Linked DNA regions of Homo sapiens: region 2 is linked to region 1. Evidence: promoter capture Hi-C in 16 types of primary human blood cells and fetal thymus (Javierre and others, 2016). All regions are on one chromosome and are shown on one strand. The core of a region is centred on a gene start or on the middle of the fragment in contact, and the rest is flanking DNA. Distances in the headings are between cores, read along the strand shown.

Region 1 (4,566 bases), core at 1,170-3,669:
TGAGAAATAAATTGACCTCCACTCAACTTACTGCCATGATTATACAGAGGGAAGGACCTGGATCTGTTTCACATCATAAACGCCTAAATTGCCAGAGCAGCACAAGCCCAGGAGTGGCCATGCAAACTCATGATGGAGGTGCTAAGGCTGTCCACAGCCCAACCTCTGCAGCAGTACTGTTAAATGAGTGTCTAGTACTTGACTTACCATTTTAATTTCACATAATTCTGAATGTATTTTTCGGCTTGAATTCAAATAACCCACTTCTAACTACCGAAAATAAAGTAGAAAAATGAACTCACTACCAGACTTCAAAGCTTATCCAAAGCAAAGATTTCGTCTTACAGCCAGAGGTGCATGATTGCAGAGCTGGATGTAACCTGAGAGGCTAACTACTCCTAATTCAGCCTCCTTGAATGACTGGATGATGCAACCTATCACAGGTGTTTTAGGTTTTTTCATCTCTATTTAATGTCCCACCTCATGCTTGAAAATCTCAAAGTGAAAAAGCTCCAGTCTGAGTCTTTGGGCAAGCAGACTAACTGAAATGACCTGTTAGCCTTTGTTGTATCCATCTGACAAGATCAGCTTGTAGAATCCAGAATGGAGGTGGGAGATCAGCTGGCAGCCTCATTTCCCTCCTCAACCACCCCTACGCTGATGTGCCCAACTCCACTCACAGCTGGGCAGCCACCGCTTGCTTGAAAATAAATGAATCTACACCACTCTCATACGGATGCTCTCAAGCATCCCTTGTTGTGAGAAAAACATTTATTGCTGCTACTAAAATGCGTAAAGTTATCTCACAAACACATACTTACAAGAATGAGGAATGAGAAACAGAACCATCCATAAAACTATAAGAAACGGCCTGGCCAGGGCAGACCAGGAATTAGTACTCTGTCCTTGCCAGGGGTCAGGCAGGGACCTCAGAAGCAGGGTGTTTTGTCCTAGGGGGCACCAGACCAGAGGTCAGGAGACTGAGGGCTACTCCTAGCTCTAGGACTTTTCCTTATCTGAAGGCCGGGTCGGTTAGCAGAGAAAATCTCACAGTCCCGTGCCAGACCTCCACGCAGGGACTCTGCAGTGCTGTTAGAAAAATTAGCTCAGCACCTTCAGCTTGCTTTCAGCCATCACTTAGCTTTCCACACAGACATTCCAAATGGGGCCTTTCAAAACTCTGCCCTCAAATGAAGGTAGTTCAGAGCAACACTTTAGATGATATCACAAGACTCCCAGGACGCTTCACTGCTTCCTCAGCATACGCCAGTGCCCGTTTTACAGGGGGGATTTATGATCCTTCTCTCAGTAGAGCGAGCCAAACTTTTATAATATTCATTAAAAATCAGCACCACGTGTAATAATATGGAATACTGCCTGTACACAAGAGGGCCAAGTTATAGGTGTTTAGGGAAACGTGGCAGAATTTTCTGGCCTTGGCAAGAGGTAAAGTTGCAGGCACCAGCACAACACTAACACAACCTTATTTTATTGCAAATGTACATTCAGCCTAAATCCTAATTACCTTCTGTAAAATCCTAACCACCACCAAGCTTTCTTCTGACAGGGCACTCACACGACGGCCTTTAAGGGCAGCAACAACATCCTAAGAGCCGCAGAAAGGAAAGGCAGGGGAGAGTGGCTGGAAGGCAGTAGGAGCTGGGGCTGAAGCCCGGGAGGTTGGCTTTTAATGTCCTCCTGAAATTGACCACTCTCTTTCCAAAAACACTGGCTTGGGGGCTTAAAGGTTCGCTCAGTAGGGCAGGCGGAGGGCCTCCTGAAAAGGATTGAGAAGTCAACATTCAAAAGGCTGCTTTTACTCGCCCGGTCCCCACCCAAAAGGGAGTCCGGTCAGCTTTGTGGGGGCCAGTGGAGCATCTTTTCTTGCCCTTCCGGGAAAACGCTAGCTAACCCTGGGATCCCCGGTCCCGACGTCTGCTCTCCTTCCCCAGGTGCAGCACCTAGGGCTCTGGCCCCCTCCCCACGTGCCACACCAGCCCTCACCACTACTCTCACCCTGCTATGCCCCCAACCCTCGTCTTTCGTGGCCGGGAAGGCCAGGCCGAGCGGGGCGGTCAGCCGGGCCGGGAGGAGGGGGCTCTCCGGGCCGCGCGGCCGCACAAAGCGGGGAGATCTGCTGCTGCGGCGGCATGAGGCGCGCCCCCTCCCGCGAGCCAGCGGAGCGCGCGCGCCCGCCCCCGTCCCCCGCCCCCCGCCCCAGCCCCCGGAGCGCCATTCGCGGAGCGGCTTACGCTAGTCGCCGGGCGTACCGCGCCCCAGCGGCCGGGGAGGTGCGCTGCCCGGCTCCCGTAAAGTTATTGTGAATGGGGAGCGGGTGACGTCAGCGCCGAATGTCAACAATGTAGCGATTGAGAGTGTGGGCGTTCCGGGGAGAGCGCAAGCCGCGCGGCGCGGAGCAAACAGCGCCGAGCCGCCGCCGCCTCAGCAGCAGCAGCAGCAGCAGCAGCGGCAGCAGCGGCCGTGCACGCCCGGGCTGCGGTCGCACAGCGCTAACGTGAGCGGCCGCCGCCCTCGCCACCCCGCCTGCCCACTCCCGCCGCCGCCCCGCTCTCGCTTTCCCCCCGGCCTCCCCTCGCCCCTTCCCCTCCCCCTTCCCGGCGCACTCGGGGGGCTGGGAACGAGCTGCCATGTGATGCGCGTCCCCTCCGCGAGCTTTCGGTGACCCACGAACTGCCCACCTCGCCGGCTGCCGGGAGGGGGCTGCGAGCCGGGAAGACGCGGGGAAGAGGAGGCGGAAAAGGACGCAAAGTTCTCCGGCGAGGTGAGTCCCGGGCCCCGGGCCCCGGGCCCCGCCGCTGGGCGGGGTGGCGGGGCAAGTTTGCGGGGGGAGCGGGCGCGCGGGGCGGGCGGGGAGGCGTGGGGAAACGGCGCGGGAAGGGAGCCCCGGCCGCCGGGCGCGCAGCCGCCCTCCCCGCGCCCTGCCCGCTTTTATGGCATTTTCTAGGAACGGGAAGGGGGTGGGAGCCGAGCCGGCGGCCGCGCCGCGCCGAATGTGTGCTCTCCCTCCCGGCTGTTTACGGCGGCCGAGGCGCATTGTATTTTGCTGGCGTCGAAGGGTGTTTTGGAACAGCAGAGGGAGGAGGAGCAGAGAGTAATAAGTCAGGCATGGGGAGGGCGGGCTGCAGGAGGCGCGCGTCCGCGCGAGCCGCAGCAGCTGTCAGACCCGCGGCCCTGCCCCCGGCCCGGCGAGGCCCGGGTGTCCCGGCCCCCAGCCTGCGATCCCAGCTCCAGGCCGGGCGGCCTCCTCCTTAACCCTCGGCGTGCGCATCCCGGGCTGCTCCGCGAGGACCTTGGCCGCGGCGCCTTTGCGCTCAGCTGTCAGCCGCCGCCGGGTGGCCCGGACCACCGCGACCGGCGGGGAATCAAAGCCCAAGTTTAGGGTCGCAGGAAGAGGCGAGCTGGGGGCCTCGCGGCGCAGACCTGGATCGAATCTCTCCTAGCGAAAGATCGGGTTGTCGGAAAGCGTCCCGCGTAGCTAAGACCTAAGGGCGCCAGGCTTCTGAGAGGGAAACCTTGCACCTCCTCTCCCACAGATCCTCCATGAAGTCAAGGTGCAACACACACACACACACACACACACACACACCCTACACTCCAGTCTCCAAGCCCCAGAAGCTTCACCCAGGAGACTGGTTTATGAAGGGGACACTGCCCTCCCCGTCCCCGCGTCGAGGCGCTCCGTGGCCCCGCTGTGCTTCGCTCACCCGGCGGGTGTTCGGGAGCCCGGCGCCGCTGGAGACGGCGGCGGGCGGCGCTCACGGGCTACCCTAGGTGCCCACGAGGGGAGAGACTGGAGCGAGCATCTCGGCGACCTCGGTCTGGCCAAGCATTTGCAGGAACTCGGACCGTGAGGGGAAGCGTGCAGGGCCGGGAGTGAGTGTGTGAAGGGGTGGCACACTCCTGGCTTCTGGGGTCGCGGGCGCATGGGGCATCCCCAGCACTCTCCCGCGCGTAGGCGAGTTTGGTAACTTGAGGGAAGTTCCGGCGCGGCCGCTGCCGGGGTGGTTTGTCTGTGGCCCGATGAGGCGCGCCTCGCAGCCTGCTCTCCCGGTCACCGCCGTCGCCGTGACCTGTGGCCTCCAGGAAACGAGAGGGACCGGGGCGCCCCACCCGCGAGACGGACCCGCAGTCTCCCGGCGGGCCCGCGGGCGGCGAGACGCGGCGTTCCTGGTTTTCACCTTCGCTGTCTAGTGCTGCAGTCTCTCACTCTCTGTAAATTTCATCTGTTGAGTGTATTTAACTAAAAAGGGTAATTACTTTAGATAAAAATCCTTTCCTGCCTAGTGGGAACCTTGGCGGAGATGATGCCTAATGAGATATTTTGCTTTTGTCTGTTTAGAGTAAAATTAGAGATGTTAACGCTGATAACGGTTTTCTCAGATCATTAAAATGTAACATGTAGGAAAGGCACGTCTTGCTGCAAAGGCTCGGGCTGACATGAAAGAAGCTGAGCGTGAAAGGCTGCCCCTCCTTTGGCGGAGAGGGCTATTTTGGTAAGGCAGCGGGCGTCTTGCTTAAAATGTGAGATCGCCCCACCCTGGTTCT
Region 2 (4,566 bases), core at 1,072-3,571, 280 kb before region 1:
AGGCAGTTTTAAATATATCTTGAGCTTGGGCAAAAAACCTGGATGGGAGAGATTTGAGAGTATGAATCCATGAGATTAGAGAACAGATTCAGAAACAAAAGGGCCAAGGACAGAACCCTGGAAAGTAGCAACATCTAAGGTTTGGACAGAGGAAGGAAGAATCAGTGAAGGAGGCTAAAATAGAACTCTTAAGCAGAGACAGGCAGAGAAGGGATTGTTGACAGCCATCTTTGGAGACTGCCATAAGCCCTTTATACACAAGCCTTCTATTAACCCAACTTCACTCTTTTCTTAAAGGAGATTAGGGCTTTTTAAAACCCCCTTCTAAACAGCTAAAATCTGATTCGAATATAATCTTTTGAAAAGTTAATTGTTGTTAGTTATCATACTTGCTGCCTTTGAGTAGCATTTTTCTCTGTACCAGGCACTGGACCAAATCCTGGCAGGCCTCTGTTTTGTTGGCACCATGAAACATACCTGAAAGCTGACTCTGATTTACTAATTACATGATCCTTGAATAGGTAACTTCAGTTCTTGGAGCCTTGGTTTTCTTCTCTCTAAGGTAGGAATAAAAAATCCTATATATTCATGGGTTTATGGTGACACTCAAACTCCATCATATTTGTAAGAAAGAGCTTTACAAGTTGTAATATATTGTTAAATATAAGGTTGCATTATCGTTATACAGATAATAAAATTGCATTTCTTTAAAATGTTATTTCTTGAAGAAAGGAATGAGAAGTATATTGGAATGCCCTGGGAAGCTTTTTTTATGCTACGTAGCACCTTCTGCCACCTCTAATTCCCATTCAGACTTCTCCCTTAGAGAGCTAATATCAGAATGGGGGGAAGGAGAGCAAAATATACCAGGAAACAACTTTATCCATTGTATATATCATCTGATTATTCTATCTTCTACTCTTATGGATATATGCTTATACTCTTTTTTGTTTAAAGCACAAAACTCCTGTCTCTGGCCAGGTGCAGTGGTTCACGCCTGTAATCCCAGCACTTTGGAAGGCCAACCCAGGCAGATCGCCTGAGCTCAGGAGTTCAAGACCAGCCTGGACAAGATGGCAAAACCCCGACTCTACTAAAAATACAAAAATTAGCTGGGTGTGGTGGCACAAGCCTGTAATCCCAGCTACTTTGGGGTGGCTGAGGCAGGAGAATCACTTCAGCCAGAGAGGCAGAGGCTGCAGTGAGCTGAGATCGCGCCACTGCACTCCAGCATGGGCAACAGAGTGAGACCCTGTCTCAAAAAAACAAACAAAACAAAACAAAACAAACTCCTGTCCTCCTGCCGGTATTTCTTACTTGTTTTTAAAAGTTAAGAAATGTAACTATTTTTCTATAAACTACTGTTTAATTATGAGTCATTCCTCTTTTCAACTCAGTAGAGAAAAGCATTTAATCTTGCCACAACAAGGATAATTTCCATGTAATACTTACCTCTTTTATGTATCTTTGTACTCAGAAATTTCAAGATTAATTCGGTTATTTCAAAATTCAGTCTTCCCCCATAAGGATTTTCCTTTTCCCTTTCTCCTGCCCAAGATGACATATGGGTGCTGTGGAAAGCTTCCACAAATAATATAAACAGCAAGGGAGAGCTCTCTGGTCTGTGTGATGGCTTCCACTGAAATATCTTGCCTTATTATCTGTTGTTAATGGATTAGCCTTGAATGCAGTGATTTTCAAACATTGAAACTACCTGGAGGGCTTGGTAAAACATGGATTGCTTGGCCTTACCGTCAGACTCTATAATTCTGGGTTGCACCCTGAGAATTTATATTTCTAATAAATATCCAGGTGATGTTGATACTGCTGAACCGGAGACCACACTTTTAGAGCCACTGGCATATGCTTTCACTGTCCTTATATCTGCTTTCCTTCTGGAACGTCTTTTTCTTTTGGCTTCTCTGACTCTCTCCTAGTTTGCCTGCTACCATATTGACTGTTCCTTCCTGTTCCTTGCCCATTCCTTCTCCTCTCTTGTGATCTAAATGTTGAACTGCTTCAAAGCTCAGTTCCTCTACTCCACTATCTCCATATTATTTTTGGTTACCTCTTCCAACTGATTGACTAGAAAAACTGACTACATGCTAATGACTCCCAAGTTTGTATCTCTTTGTCTGACTTCTCCATAGATCCTCTCACTCACGTTTCTACCTTCTTACTTGATATCTCCTCTTGGATATCCAGTAGGCATCTTAAACTTCATATGACTAAAACCAAACTCTGAGTTATTAAAAAAAAATCTGCATCATTCTTATCCCTCAGTAAACTGTTGTCCAGTCTAGGTGTTTTCCTTGATTCAGCTCTTTTCCTCTACACCTGTCCTGCCTGGATGCAGAGCATCAGCAAACCCTATTGACTCTACTTCTAAAACATTTCCCAGATCTGCCCAGTTTCTGCACTACCATTGACCTTGCCCTCGTAGCTATTGTTGCTTGTTTGGACTGCTGTAATGGCTTCCTAATGGGTCTCTATTTACATATCCTAGCTTCCCTACAATCCTTTCTTTAAGAGCTATAATGATTTTGTTTAATGTCACATACCATCCTTACTTCCTTGAATTTTTTCAGTTCCTTCACATTGCACTTAGACTGAAATTCAAACTCCTTTTTATGGTAGGTAGAGCCGTTCAGGATCCAACCTCTGCCTGTCCCTCCAGCCTTACCTTACAATCACTCTTCCCTTCCTCCACTATACACCAGCCACACCAAACACTCCCAAGTATTTCTCTAAATCATCACTAAAATGTCACCTTTCTCAGTGAGGCCTTGAGTGATTACCTTGTCTAAAATTGGAGTGAGGCAGAGTGCATACATGTGTGTATACACACACAATTATACTCCTTTTCTTCTTAGCACACAACTCCCTTCCTTTTTATTTGTCTTTTTCCACAAGAATATAAACAATGAGAACAAGGATTTTGATTTGGTTTGTTCACTCTTGTATCATCAGTGCCTAAAATAGCGCATAGCCCTTAGATTGGGCTCACATATTGGAGTAAATAAGGTAGTGAGGTTTTTCTTTTCCCTTAGGGCAAAGCTTTATATTAGTTGTTTCTTCTGTGTGTGTGTGTGTGTGTGTGTGTGTGTGTGTGTGTGTGTGTGTGTGTGTGACAGAGTCTAGCTCTGTTGCCCAGGCTGGAGTTCAGTGGCGCGATCTCGGCTCACTGCAACCTCGGCCTCTCAGGTTCACGCCATTCTCCTGCCTCAGCCTCCCCAGTAGCTGGGATTACAGGTGCCTGCCACCACGCCCCGTTAATTTTTTGTATTTTTAGTAGAGATGGGGTTTCACCGTGTTAGCCAGGATGGTCTCAATCTCCTGACCTCGTGATCCGCCTGCCTCAGCCTCCCAAAGTGCTGGGATTGGTGCCTTGTGTCATCCAAATGTCAGATTCGTAACCTCTTTATATGGCCTTTTCAAACTGCCCAGCCTGGAGCTGCCACTAGTCTCTTGGTCATAGCATCCTATTTTTTGTTGTTGTCGTTGTTCTATGTGGCATTTTTTTAAAGTCTGATTTTTTTCTTACTCATCTTTTGTTTGTATATCGATTTTCTTTTCTCCTCCCCTCCCTTCACATACGCTAGAAAGTACATTTGTGTAGATCAGAGCCTTTGTCTTATTTCTTTCTGTATTTCTGATGTCCCAAACAGTAGCTGGATGTAGTACACACTAAAGAAATATTGGTTTAAGGAGTAAACAAACGAAGTTCATTATTCTTTCAACATCAAGCCTCACTTGCATCCTTTGAAGGCAGAAGACCTAACCCAGTTCTCCCTGCTTGCTGACCAGGCCTTCCCCTTGGCTTTCATTAATCCTCTGAAACCCAGCTGTGTTCTTCATTAAGTATTTGAGCTAGCTACCATCCCACAGACCTCTAATGTAGGTCCCAACACTCTGCCCTACCGCAGCCTCCTTCCTGCAATCAGAAGACTCCTTACTTCTCAGTTAGCTTGCTTTTTGCTTCACAAGAGCTTTTCTTTATCCCTTACGTGTTCTACTGGGGCTGAGGGAACCCGGGTTAGGGCCTCCCTTGGTCTGTCTTCCTTGCCACAATCCTTACTCCTTTGAAGCTTCTGGTGTTTGCAGAGCACATGCTGTGAGGATGCCTGCTCTTAGGGATCTAAGTGAGAAGAGAAGGGTATGAGTCTTTTTTGCTGTTGAATCCCTACCCTAACCCTATCCTGAAAAGGGGGAGGGAGGAGTTTATTAGCCTTCATCATTAGCCCTTACCTTTGGCTCTCTTCAGCTGGTAAGTGTTTAAAAGTTTTTAAGTACTATTATTTAGTCTTAAATTTCTTCTCTACCGCACTTTCATTCCATGAAGGCAGGGGTCCATTCTTTATATATATTTTTTCTTCTCATCCCCAGTGTATCTACCTTTATGCTATTTTTAAAAATGGGAAGTCATTTTTGATACACACAAACTTAATTCTTTAAGTATTGACTGTGCTTATAATCTCACTCCTTTGAATTCACAGCAGTTATTATTTCTATCCTGTATTTCAGGTCAGTACAACCTTGGACATCTTCACCTTTCTTTATTATAAC

What was found. Contacts are between HindIII fragments. The CHiCAGO score rates a contact against its expected background, and 5 or more counts as called.
Region 2: a contact is called between a fragment that was not itself captured here and the fragment with the promoter of BACH2 in region 1, in 1 of 17 cell types (megakaryocytes). The highest score is 5.9, in megakaryocytes.

What each region holds. Positions count from the first base shown.
Region 1 is chr6:90,294,696-90,299,261 of GRCh38, reverse strand. It overlaps BACH2 (BACH transcriptional regulator 2), which reads left to right and starts at 2,419. Exons shown (of 9, transcript NM_021813.4): 1 at 2,419-2,782. It overlaps LOC105377891 (a long non-coding RNA gene), which reads right to left and starts at 2,023. Exons shown (of 7, transcript XR_942778.4): 1 at 1,526-2,023. It overlaps LOC124901361 (a long non-coding RNA gene), which reads left to right and starts at 4,056. Exons shown (of 2, transcript XR_007059676.1): 1 at 4,056-4,566. RefSeq lists enhancers at 205-706, 4,024-4,113 and silencers at 2,506-2,555, 3,181-3,240. The HindIII fragment of the contact is 2,083 bases long and covers 1,556-3,638 here.
Region 2 is chr6:90,574,984-90,579,549 of GRCh38, reverse strand. The region is part of intron 1 of MAP3K7 (mitogen-activated protein kinase kinase kinase 7); the gene reads left to right. Among named protein-coding and RNA genes, the nearest start is that of MAP3K7, 9.8 kb to the left of the region's middle. The HindIII fragment of the contact is 1,476 bases long and covers 1,584-3,059 here.